2 separate regions of the Homo sapiens genome follow, and region 2 is linked to region 1. The links are contacts of gene promoters, found by promoter capture Hi-C in blood cells and fetal thymus (Javierre and others, 2016). All regions are on one chromosome and are shown on one strand. The core of a region is centred on a gene start or on the middle of the fragment in contact, and the rest is flanking DNA. Distances in the headings are between cores, read along the strand shown. Region 1 holds the start of PFN2 (profilin 2). Region 2 has its middle 24 kb from the start of SERP1.

The links. Contacts are between HindIII fragments. The CHiCAGO score rates a contact against its expected background, and 5 or more counts as called.
Region 2: a fragment that was not itself captured here is called in contact with the fragment with the promoter of PFN2 in region 1 in 3 of 17 cell types (M1 macrophages, megakaryocytes and endothelial precursors); the score reaches 7.6 in M1 macrophages.

The regions. Positions count from the first base shown.
Region 1 is chr3:149,969,025-149,974,891 of GRCh38, reverse strand. PFN2 (profilin 2) reads left to right here and starts at 3,997. Exons shown (of 3, transcript NM_053024.4): 1 at 3,997-4,167. The coding sequence starts at 4,036. It overlaps LOC646903 (a long non-coding RNA gene), which reads right to left and starts at 3,613. Exons shown (of 1, transcript NR_036538.1): 1 at 1,650-3,613. RefSeq lists enhancers at 2,734-3,264, 3,265-3,796 and silencers at 3,642-3,701, 3,932-4,011, 4,222-4,461, 4,472-4,521, 4,542-4,801. The HindIII fragment of the contact is 10,546 bases long and covers 1-5,867 here.
Region 2 is chr3:150,519,616-150,525,446 of GRCh38, reverse strand. No RefSeq gene overlaps it. Among named protein-coding and RNA genes, the nearest start is that of SERP1, 24 kb to the left of the region's middle. RefSeq lists enhancers at 4,349-4,849, 4,850-5,350. The HindIII fragment of the contact is 502 bases long and covers 4,034-4,535 here.

The sequences.
Region 1 (5,867 bases), core at 2,748-5,247:
CAAGGCAAAAATTTAAGGGTAACACTAAGAAAAATTGGTAGCATAAATTTGAAAAAAAAAAAAGAATAAAACACACATGCCCGACATTTTTTTTAAAGGCAAGGAAGAAAAAAGCATAGAAAAAAAAAGAGACTAATAAAATTAGTTCAAACAAGTCCAAATGTATGTCAATAATTACAATGAATGTAAATGGAATAAACTTGCCAATTAAAGGTTATACTGCCATATTGGATAAAAAAACAAAATCCAGCTGCGTGAAGTTTATGAGACACAAAATAAAAAGGACAGAGAAAGGTTGAAAGAGAGGTGGGGAGCGAAAAGATATATAAGGTAAACACCAATAAAAAGAGAGCTGGGATGTTACCTTAATATTTGACAAAAATTTTAAGACAAAAAGCAGTATTGGTGATCAAGAGGGCAACTACTAAATAATAAAGAATAAATTCATCAGAAAGGAAAAATATAACAATTTAAATTTCCATTTTCCTAATAGCCTCAAAATATAAAAAGCAAAAATTCATAGAATTTCAGGGTAAAATGGCCAAATGCAGAATTATAAGTTCTCCTTGTTCTTTACTGTAAAAATCATACATAGTGAATACATTCAAAAGATATTTGTATTAGCTTGTGGGATTAAGGATTTTTCTCCATTTTCTAAACTTTATTGCTGTGATATTGATTTTATAATTCATATACTTTTTTCAGAAATGAACTATGCGGTGAAATTTTTAAATAACTGATGGTTAATTATGGTTTTACTAAATTTGGGGGTAATTACTGTGTATAGTTTTAGATCCTGCTCCCAATGATTATCAGGTTGTGTACATTTTAAAGATAATTTCTTGTTTGTGTTTTGCTAAAATTTCAAATGATTTTTACATGGACTCAAGTGGTTCAGACACCACTTGACTTACACATTAAAGAACGTGGCTTACTACACAGTTTCTGCTTTACTCAATAAGAATAAAATAATTCTGGAAAGAATGCATAATAATGCACTCCAAACTTAAATATGCTACTGATTGTTAATGGCTACATTATTCTGGCTATTTGTATCAACAACACAGCCACAACTTTTCTAAACTTCTGCCCAGATATTACAATTATCCTAGGGATTACTTACTCTCAGAAAAGTAGAGGAAGATACAAATTGGCAATTCTTTTTCTCACACTGATACTCCTTTGGACTTAAGTGAACCAATATTGTTATTACTAAAGCTCAGTATTCCACCTCTATTTATACTTTCTGAAACGTATAAGCAACACTTAGATGAAATAGGAAGGGATCACTGTACACAAATGGAAAATAAAGCAGCATGCAAGGAAGCTGGTTCTAAAGAAAACAAGCACAGGTGGCCGGGCATGGTGGCTCATGCCTGTAATCCCAGCACTTTGGGAGGCCGAGGCAGGCGAATAACGAGGTCAGGAGTTTGAGACCAGCCTGGCCAACATGGTGAAACCCCGTCTCTACAAAAAATACAAAAAATTAGCTGGGCGTAGTGGCGGGTGTCTGTAATCCCAGCTACTTTTGGGAGGCTGAGGCAGGAGAATCGCTTGAACCCAGGAAGCGGAGGTTGCAGTGAGCCGAGATCATGCCACTGCACTCCAGCCCTGGTGACGGAGTCTCATCTCAATAAACAAACAAACAAAAAAGCACAGGTTACTTTATTACAGTACTGAAAACCAAGACAGCACATGGACTCTCTTTGAATATATAACCTAAAAATTGAAACTGTAAAATTTAATCTATTATACAGAATTTTTTTCATAGTTGTTTAAATTTTACTGTTTGCAATTCTAGAAAAATAACATCATGTTGGAAAAGTAAGCAGTAATTTAAAATGAATTATATTTTGAAAAATATAGAAGAATGACAAGAATTCTAAATTTTTGTGAATATTTTACCCAAGAAATGTGTTTTAGAATCTTTTGAGATTTGAATTAGAAAATATTGTTGGTCAAATTCTTTCACTGTTTAAAGCCAACAATAAAAGAATAGGAAAAGAATGTAGTTATTTCCAACTCTGTGCTATAACAATAAGATAGTAACGTCTAGAAATTATATCTTAAAACCTTCAGAGTAAATTAATAAAAATTCAACATACTTCAAGTTATCACTGTATTTTTTCTATAATTACCTTTTCGTTTACTGTTTCAATTTATTGAATTATACATACAATGAAGAGCACAATAAATGTACATACAGCTTGATGAATTCTCACATAGTGAGCCTGTGTTACAAGTAATCTATTATTAACTTTTAAGATGATACAGTGCTATGATCGAAGGACTAAAATGATCAACATCACCATAAAAGGCAGAGTCATAAACAAGAACAATTAAGTGTAATTAAATCAGGTGGGAGGCACACTTACAAAAATGAAACAATTTTTGGTTCACATTTTACACCACACAGGTATTCTGTATCTTTAGAACATGAGAAAATACATATTCTCAGTCTGATAGGTCTCTGACTTGGGGGTTTCTTTTACTGTACTTTTTTTCTCTCTAGTAGCTGAACATTTTAAAGCAATCAGCAGAAAAAATATAAAACTTCAGAACCAATTAGACTTTTAAAAGCAACGTTCTTGCCCTTTCCAGAGATACATTCCTTAATCCTCCTACAAATCATGACCTCACACGATAACTTTAAGGGTGAACATCAACTTATCTACATTTTGGTGCTTTCTTTCCCTTAAGTGGCAGATGGTTTCTATTAACCTAAAATTGAAGTCATTGTTGGGGGACCCCTAATTCCATGTCTAGTCCTAGTGCCCAGAGGCTACCAAAGACGATACGAATAGCTTCTCAGGCACTCTACCCACCGTTTACCTTGTTAATACAAATCTTTCCCAGACCTGGGTCCCGAAATTATTTTACCCTGCAGAGCAGAAATGTTACGGTGTTCATTCAGTGAACTCTTCCCTAGTTTTTAATCTTTGTATTTTCTGCGTATACTTCAAGCCACCAGTAACTTTCCCAGTTACCAAGAAACAGTGTAACACAGGTCGCTATTTGTTTTGTTCGGAATTTACGAGCAATTTAACCACACGTGATTAGCAACATTAAGGGGGCTCCTCCAGGCAAAGAATCCACAGAATGAGAGGCCCTTGGTACCCAAATGAAGCAACAATGAAAGATCGGCGAAGCTCAGCAAGGTTCCTGAGCGCCACGGACGCCTGCTCTGATTTCAGGTTGCCGGCGCGCGCCCGCGGGTCTGCCTTTATGGACGAGGCGCAAGAGGGATCCAGGAAAGACGGTGCCCTTAGAGACTCGGAGATTAGCGTGGGCAACCCTGCCACCAGCTGCCCCTGCCACCAGCCGCCCCCACAACAAAAAGGAGGAAACGCTCCGCATCCCGTCACCAGGACAACTCTGTAACCCGACACCGAGGCTCAAGATTCCGCATCCCGGGCAGCGAACACAGGAGAAAAGCACATCGCGGCCCGGCCGCGGGGCTCCAAGGCGTCCGTGCCGCCGCTGTTCCTGGGGTGCCGAGAGCGACGCGGGGTCCACCCTCTCCGCCGGCCCGAGGTCCGAAGCTCGGCCCGCCACCGCTCCCGGCCGGCGCCTCCCGCACGTGGCGGCCGTGATTGTCCCGGGGCGGTATCCCTCCGCGCCCCCGCCTCAGTCTCCCCCCGCCCTTCCCGGGACCCTCCGTGCCCGGGCGCCGCGGAAGGATCGCACGCACGCGCGCGCGCACGCCCAGCCGTGTCCGCGGAAAACGGAGGGCGCTGCGGTAAGGAGCAGCCGCCACAGGCACAGCCGCTTCGCAGCCTCCCGCCGCTGGTTTGTCAGCCCCGCGGCTGCGGGCGGCCGGGCGGCCGAGCGCGCTCTGAGGTTCGTCCCTCATCGCTGAACCCGCGTCCTCCCGCCGCAGCTCCTCGGGGAGGGGGGCGGTCGGTGCCTGCGCAGAGCCGCCTCCTCCCCGCCCCCGCCCCGCCTCCCCCCGCGCCGCCGCCGCCCGCTACCGCCGCCGCCGCCGCTGCGCCTGCTGCTCCTCGCCGTCCGCGCTGCAGTGCGAAGGGCTCGAAGATGGCCGGTTGGCAGAGCTACGTGGATAACCTGATGTGCGATGGCTGCTGCCAGGAGGCCGCCATTGTCGGCTACTGCGACGCCAAATACGTCTGGGCAGCCACGGCCGGGGGCGTCTTTCAGAGCATTACGGTGAGGACCAGTGGCGGCCGGTACCCTGGTCCCTGCACCGGAGCGGGGTGGCCGGCCGCGGGGGCACCGCAGCGCGGGGCTGGAACACTGAGGGCCGAGCCCGCAGGTGTGCTAGGCAGCGGGCGCCGAGGATGCGGCTGCCGGGCGGGCGGGGAGGCCGAGGCCCGGGGACGCCCCCTCACCCGGGGCTGCGCTGACAGGCTGGGGGCGGCGGCCGGACTCCTTGCTGGCCCTGGCCGGGCGCCCCCGGCGTTCCCAGCGTCGGTCCAGGTGCCCGGGTTGGGGGAGGGGGCACGCACCGGCCAGGGCAAGGGGAGGGGTTCCTTTTTTCCTCCTAGTGCGGTTCCCCTAGGTTCTCTTGAAGCCCTGAGGTTTGCTATGCACGTTCTGGGGTGGAAGCGGGGGTCGGGGATCCGGGCTGGGGCGCGCGGGCCCCGGGTGGAGGTCCCTAGGCTCTCTGGCCGGCTCTTGCTCCGCGGACAGCGCGCCTCCCGCGCCTCCGGCTGTGGGAGGCGGCGGCCCCGGCCCGGCCCCCGGGATTCTCGAAGCGACTTTGCGTAGGTTTACCGATGTCCAGGCCTCTGGGGCTTGCGAGAGATGTACGCCGACCGCGTAGGTGGATTCGTGAATCTCGACTTCAGCTCTAGCTCTATAGGTTGTTTTTTTTTTTTTTTTAAATTCTCCAAGATGGCGAACTGCCATTGATTTCTCTTCTCATATGGAGATTCATCGATATACGGTTATCCCCAGTTATGCAACATAGCTCAAAAAAGGGGTGCTTTTCGGGGGCTTTCAATTATCTGCGAAGACCAGGAGCACACTTCACTTCTCTAAGTCCCTCCCTCTTTAGTGGTGGCAGTAAAGGAACTAATGCAGTTTTATGCTTCACATTGCCTGATTTTCTTGAGACTTGATGGTTTTGAGTTGGTTGCAATATGTTTGGAGAATATTTGCCACAAAACCTCCAGCTTATTGTTTTGCCTGTTTCTGCCCAAGGCTGTTTCTAAAATTATGATAATTGTACTAAATACGAGACCATTCTCTTTATTTCTTAGCACCACGCTCCCTTTCCATTAAGCACCAAAATTCAGGTCCCCTATTAAGGGTGCTAATTATTCTTTTACCACTTAACATGGTTTAAAGTCTAACTTTAGAACTCAGTCCTTGATAGTAGTACTTTAAGGTCTCGTATACCCGCAGTGGACTACAATTCTTGTAGGGAATTGGCATCTGGTCATCAACTTTTTTCCTGCAGTCCTCTTGTCTTTGTGTGTGAGTTCCCGCTGTCTGACTAGGAAGATTGCGGGAGTGTGCTTGGAAATGGCTGGGGCCTGCTATGACTCTGCAGTTCTGATGGGGGCGACGCCTTCCTTCTTATTCATGGAATGTTAGAATGCACGTTTTCTCCTTTCCGGTTCTGGTGGCTACCTCAGTTTCTTTCCCAATCTCCCTCCATTTTTTCTGTTTTACTATTGCCTACCGCAGTGCTGTAGACAGAATCCACTTTGCGTTTGCCCAGAAAGAAAACTGATTACTGAGATGGGAGGGGAAGGGAAGTTGGAAAGAAACGGGAGTCGTGGCTAGAAAAATAGGAGGGAAATATGAATTTGGAAAAGCACTGATGTCCAGGGGTTGAAGTCCATCTCATCACGTATATTTCTAGTTACTCTAAGCAGAGAAGTGAACACATCAAAGAACAG
Region 2 (5,831 bases), core at 3,035-5,534, 550 kb before region 1:
AATGGGTTGTTTTGCTCGTCTTTTGTGGCTTTGAAGTTCCGATAATTCCTTTTCACTTCTAAAATTTCTTTCTTTTTTTTTTTTTTTTGAGACAGGATCTTGCTTTGTTGCCCAGGCTGGAGTGCAGTGGCACAGTCTCGGCTTACTGCAACCTCCTCCTCTCAGGTTCAAGCAATTCTCCTCCATCAGCTTCCCGAATAGCTGGGATTACAGGTGCCCGCCACCACGCCTGGCTAATTTTTGTATTTTTAGTAGAGACGGAGTTTTTCCATGTTGGCCAGGCTGGTCTCAAACTCCTGACCTCAAGTGATCCACCCACCTTGGCCTCCCAAAGTGCTGGTATTACAGGTGTGAACCATCATGCCCGGCTAACTTCTAAAATTTCTATTTGATTCCTTTTAAGATTTTTTCTGCAATCTTCCTTGTTTTTTAAATAAGGTCTTATTTTCTTTGGGTTTTCTTTTTCTTTTTTAATTATTTTTTTTAATTTGGCTTTCTTCATACCAGAGGTTGTGATTTTTTTAAAAACATGTTTTTAATAATTTTAAACATAATTATTTTATTTTCTTCCAGTTTTTTTTTATTGTCTCAAGTTTTGGTACTTGTGTTTACTGACTCTCACTTATGGTGGAATAATTCATTGCTTTAACAATTTTCTACAGTAGCCCATCTTTAGTGGGGGCTGTGTTTTCCTTGAAAATTGTCAGTGGCTTGAGTTGTAGAAATATTCTTTCATAAACGGGCATTGGCTTTGCAAAGAGCCATGGGACCCAAGGATATTGCTAATCTCACATTATTTTATGTTAATTTTTCAGCCGAGGTTTGGGGGTTAAAGTTCTTGGATTCTAAAATTTTTACACCGGACTGGGTGCGGTGGCTCACGCCTGTAATCCCAACACTTTGGAAGGCTTAGGTGGGTGGATCACCTGAGGTCAGGAGTTTGAGACCAGCTGGGCCAAAATGGAGAAACCCCGTCTCTACTAAAAATACAAAAATTAGCCGGGTGTGGTGGCCGGCACCTGTAATCCCAGCTACTCGGGGGGCTGAGTCAGGAGAATCACTTGAACCCGGGAGGAAGAGGTTGCAGTGAGCTGAGATTGTGCCACTGCACTCCAGCCTGGGCAACAGAGCAAGACTCTGTCTCAAATAATAATAATAATAACAATAATTTTACACCAGATCTGAGTTGAGGTAATTAGGCCCAAAGTTTTAAAATTCAAATAAATAAATACGTTTTATTTTCTGGACTCCAAAGTCCAGAAAAGAGGAAGATAAGCTTCCTAAGCATCTTTCTGACTTGGTAGTAGATACATTTCATGCTGGTCCACTTTTTAACTCAAAGATCTCAATTTATTCACCTTCACCTCCCTAACCTTTGTGGATTCAAGAGTTTATCTCTAGTCCCTTTGTAGCTTCTAGGACAGCCACAGGATTATCTGCTGTGCTCAGTTTTCCATTCCTTCTTCACTCTGGCACTTGGAGATTCTCCTTTATAACTTGTGAGTTTAGCTACTCAAGAGAATTATTGTTGTATTTTATTTAGCAATTCTTTGAACGTAGGGGTAGATTTTCCCAGTCCTCTTATTGAAATTGGAAGGCTTGACCTTGTTAAAGGATGATTTTCACTTTTTTTTTTTTTTGAGACAGGCAGGAATGCAGTGGCACACTCTGTCACAGTGGCACTGCTCTGTCACTCAGGCAGGAATGCAGTGGCACAATCACGGCTCACTGCAGCCCTGACCTCCAAGCAATTCTCCCCCTTCAGCCTCTTGAGTAGCTGGGACTACAGGCATGTGCCATCACATCTGGCTAATTTTTTATTTTTATTTCTATTTTTATTTTTTGTAGAGATGAAATTACCCCCAAAGGATGAAATTACCCCCAAAGGGAAAGTGGACCACCTACTTTGAGTCCCTGCCCCCTTATCCTTCCTCGCTGGCTCCCAACTTGGCTTCCTATGCAGGACTTATTTGTTCTGGCTGTTAGATCTGTTCTCAGACAACAAATTCTACCTCAATCCTTCACTTTTCACCTGAGTCTTTCAGAACATCATTGGTGATGTTCAGTCACAGGGAGACTGAGAGTTTGTACGAGGGGAAAAATTTTTTTTTTAAAAAGTGAAATTAACACAGAGAATTCACTATGTTGTCCAGGCTGGTCTCAAACTCCTGGGCTCAAGTGATCCTCCCGCCTTGGCCTCCCAAAGTGCTGGAATTATAGGCACGAGTCACTGTGCCTGGCTAAGGATGATTTTCACAGAGGGGTAAAATTATGACTCTATACAGATATAAAATGAACATGTGTTAAAGATTTTATTTAAGTCATTATAAATGAAGAAATAGTAAGATGTTAAACAATGAGTTCAAAGGAGAAGTCAAAGAAGCACAAATTTATGTGGAGCAAAGCAATACTGAAATGAATTTACAAATGGATGGAGAAACTGACTTTTTCAACAGGGGGCAGAAAATTGGATCTCTAACAAAATGTCTTTGTAAACAACACTAACTTTGCATTGTTATCACTTATTGACAATTTACAGAGTTGTAAAATAATTCAAAAGCAATGGAAAGGTACAATCAGATAACCTGAAAGGTGGGTTCTAAATAGTGCTTAGTTTTCCATTTGAGATACCCAATAATCTTTTTTGCTATTTCCAAATGTTCTAACCTTGGATTTTATAGGAATTTTTCCGAGAAGACTTTGTTATATTTTTTACCTTCATAGTGAAAGAAAACAGTATTTTTTCCTCTATCTTTTGCTCAGTTGATAGAGCCAAACTTTGGAGTAGGAGTCAGGGATAAAGCAAAGGAACTATAGTCAGGTACTGTATAGTAATGTTTTGGTCAACATTTGACCACATATATGACGGTGCTCCTATAAAATTATAATGAAATTGAAAAATTCCTATTTCCTAGTGACATCATAGCTGTCATAAGCCATCGTAATGTCATAATGCAATGCTTTAACTTTTCTATGTTTATATATATTTAGATAAACAAATACTTACCATTGTGTTACAATTGCCTGCCACATTCAGTACAGCAACATGCTGTATGGGTTTATAGCCTAGAAGCAATAGGCTATACCATGTAGCCTAAGTGTGTAGTAAGCTATGTTATCTAGGTTTAGTACAGCATAAGATGTTTACATAATGGTGAAATTGTGACGTATTTCTCAGATGTTCCTGTTAAGTGACACCTGACTGCACTTTAACATCATTCTTCCCATTTTCTCCAGAAACTTCTGAGAAACTCTAAGGGGCCATTAAATGAACACTTGATTCTAGCCACTGTCAGGGAGTTACCTATTAGGTGCTTTATCTATTTATGGAAGAATTGGTGATGGGCAGTAGGGGGCTATTGTTGATTTCTGGAATATGCACAGAGTATAAATATTTTAAGGTTCTGGGAACAGAAAATCCATTCTTCATTGACCTATGCCAAACAGCTCCCTGTGAAATGCATTTTGGAAACCACTGCAGAAACTTGAAAGATGAAGTTACATTCAGGATTTTCATCTAGATTTCAAGGTTGGGCCTTATCACTTTTGTTTCTAGGAAGGAAGATTCAGCAGATTTTGCTCCTATATTATCAGAGTTCTGAAAACACTTTGAGGACACCTCTGTATGCCCAGTCCAGGGAACTCTAAAGGCATTAGAGGGATAACATGTTTTGAGATGGGATAAAAGGCAAGAGAGATGACCTCTTCCTCTAGCAGTGGGCGAGCAGCTGGCTCTGCTTTTCACTGATTTTATGGCTTTGTCTGTGAAGGAACAGCAGTGTTCCACAGAGAGGCGCTTGACTGAGACAGTTGCTGTTACTGAGCAGAAGAGAGCCAGGGGGTGCAGTAAGATGTGGAAAGCATTGTTTCCTCTAAATGTGGGAAGAAATGAAAAACTTACAGGGGAGAAAAGACTGTAGTATACTTAAAAAAGAATACTTAAGTAGAATCTGAGGAGTGGATAATAGGTTGAAGGATATGTGCATATTATAATCAGTGTCATGTAGTTCCTGTAAATTAATTTCATAAAGCTTATATGGAAACAAGGTGACTTGGTAACATGGAAATCAATAATAAGTGAGAAGGGCAGGACATAAAATATGTGTACTGATATATACATACTAAAATGGGAAAAGAATATGAAAATATTAGCTTGGTGGATTTTTTTGTGATAGGGTTATGTGGGTGTTTTTTAAAAATGTAAAATATATTTGTTTGTTTGCTTGTTTTGAGACAAGGTCTCTGTTGCCCAGGCTGTAATGCAGTGGTGTGATCAGCTCACTGTAGCCTCTACCTCCCCAGCTCAAGCAATTTTCCCACTTCAGCCTTCGGAGTAGCTGGGACTACAGGTACCAGCCACCACACCTAAGTAATTGTTTAACTTTTTGTAGAGATGGAGTCTTGCTAAATTTCCTAGGCTAAATTGTTTCTATTTTGATTACTGTGTCCATAAAAATAATTTGATAATTTTAAAAAGCGAAACTAAAGAGGAAAAACATGTGTTTGCTTATTGCTGTAATTATTAGTTGCAAGCTTTCACATTTTACCTTTATGTATAACCCTGAAGTGTATTAAATAATATATGGTGTCAAATTACTTAGGTAATGGTAGGAAGCACCTACTATCCTGTGGCAAGATAATTTTTAGACTTGTTATTTGTGTTCTCTCCAAATTTCGGTTCCGTAGGGCTTTCAGGAATGTTGCAAGATTCAAAGAAGAAGCAACCACAATTCAAACGTTCTCCCGACCTCTTGTAAAAGCCGGAGAAGCGAGGAAACCCGGCATTGTTGAGGGTGGGAGAGCGGAGCTGCCAGCTGCTGGTCCCCTGGAGCTGGGGGTGGCGCGGCCGGGGTTTGGGGCGACCCTTTGGAGGAGATCGCCGGTCCCCCAGCGAGGTGTGGAGGATGAGAGCGCCTTAGGACCACCGCGAGCGACCACCCTGAAGAAGTCAGTGGAGGTCGTGACAGACTGCAAGCGAGACCCATTCCATTTCCATCTGTGCTGCAACAGCGGAGAAGGAGAGACGACACACGACCTAGATCACTCCGGGAGGGAGGGTCTGAATTAAGGTGATAGTCCGAGTTTGTGACCTGAGATTCATACTACAAACCCCGCGGAGAACAAGGAAGAGGACCGAGAGCTTTTGTCCCGTGCTTGTGAGCTGAAGCCAGGTGTTTGAAGTGTTTGATCTTCTAGAAAGCCCTTGCCCACCTAAAGTAATTGGGTACAGCTGAGGTTCTCAAACTTGAGCGTGCACCACAATCACCCGAGAGGTAATTAAAACCTGGAGTGCACTTTGGGATGCCGAGGCGGGCGGATCACGAGGTCAGGAGATAAAGACCATCCTTGGCTAACACGGTGAAACCCTGTCTCTACTAAAAATACAAAAAATTAGCCGGGCGTGGGGGCGGGCGCCTGTAGTCCCGGCTACTCGGGAGGCTGAGGTAGGAGAACGGCGTCAACCCGGGAGGCGGAGCTTGCAGTGAGCCGAGATCGCGCCACTGCACTCCAGCCTGGGCAACAGAGCGAGACTCCGTCTCAAAAAAACCCCAAAAACAACAACAACAAAAACACCTGGAGTGCTGGGGACCCCATTCCCAGAGTTTCTGATTCAGTGGGCCTGAGTTGGGGCCCGAGAATGTGCATCTCTAACAGGTTCTCAAGTGAAGCTGATGCTGCAAGTCCCGGAACGGTGCTTCGACAACTGGTGAATGCTATGCTTTTCAGATACTTTGATATCAAACTTTTGCATGGCTGCAGCTACCTAAAGTGGCGTGTCAGTTTTACCAGAGGTTACTTTTCACTTAATATTGGCTTGGTTTATTTTCAGA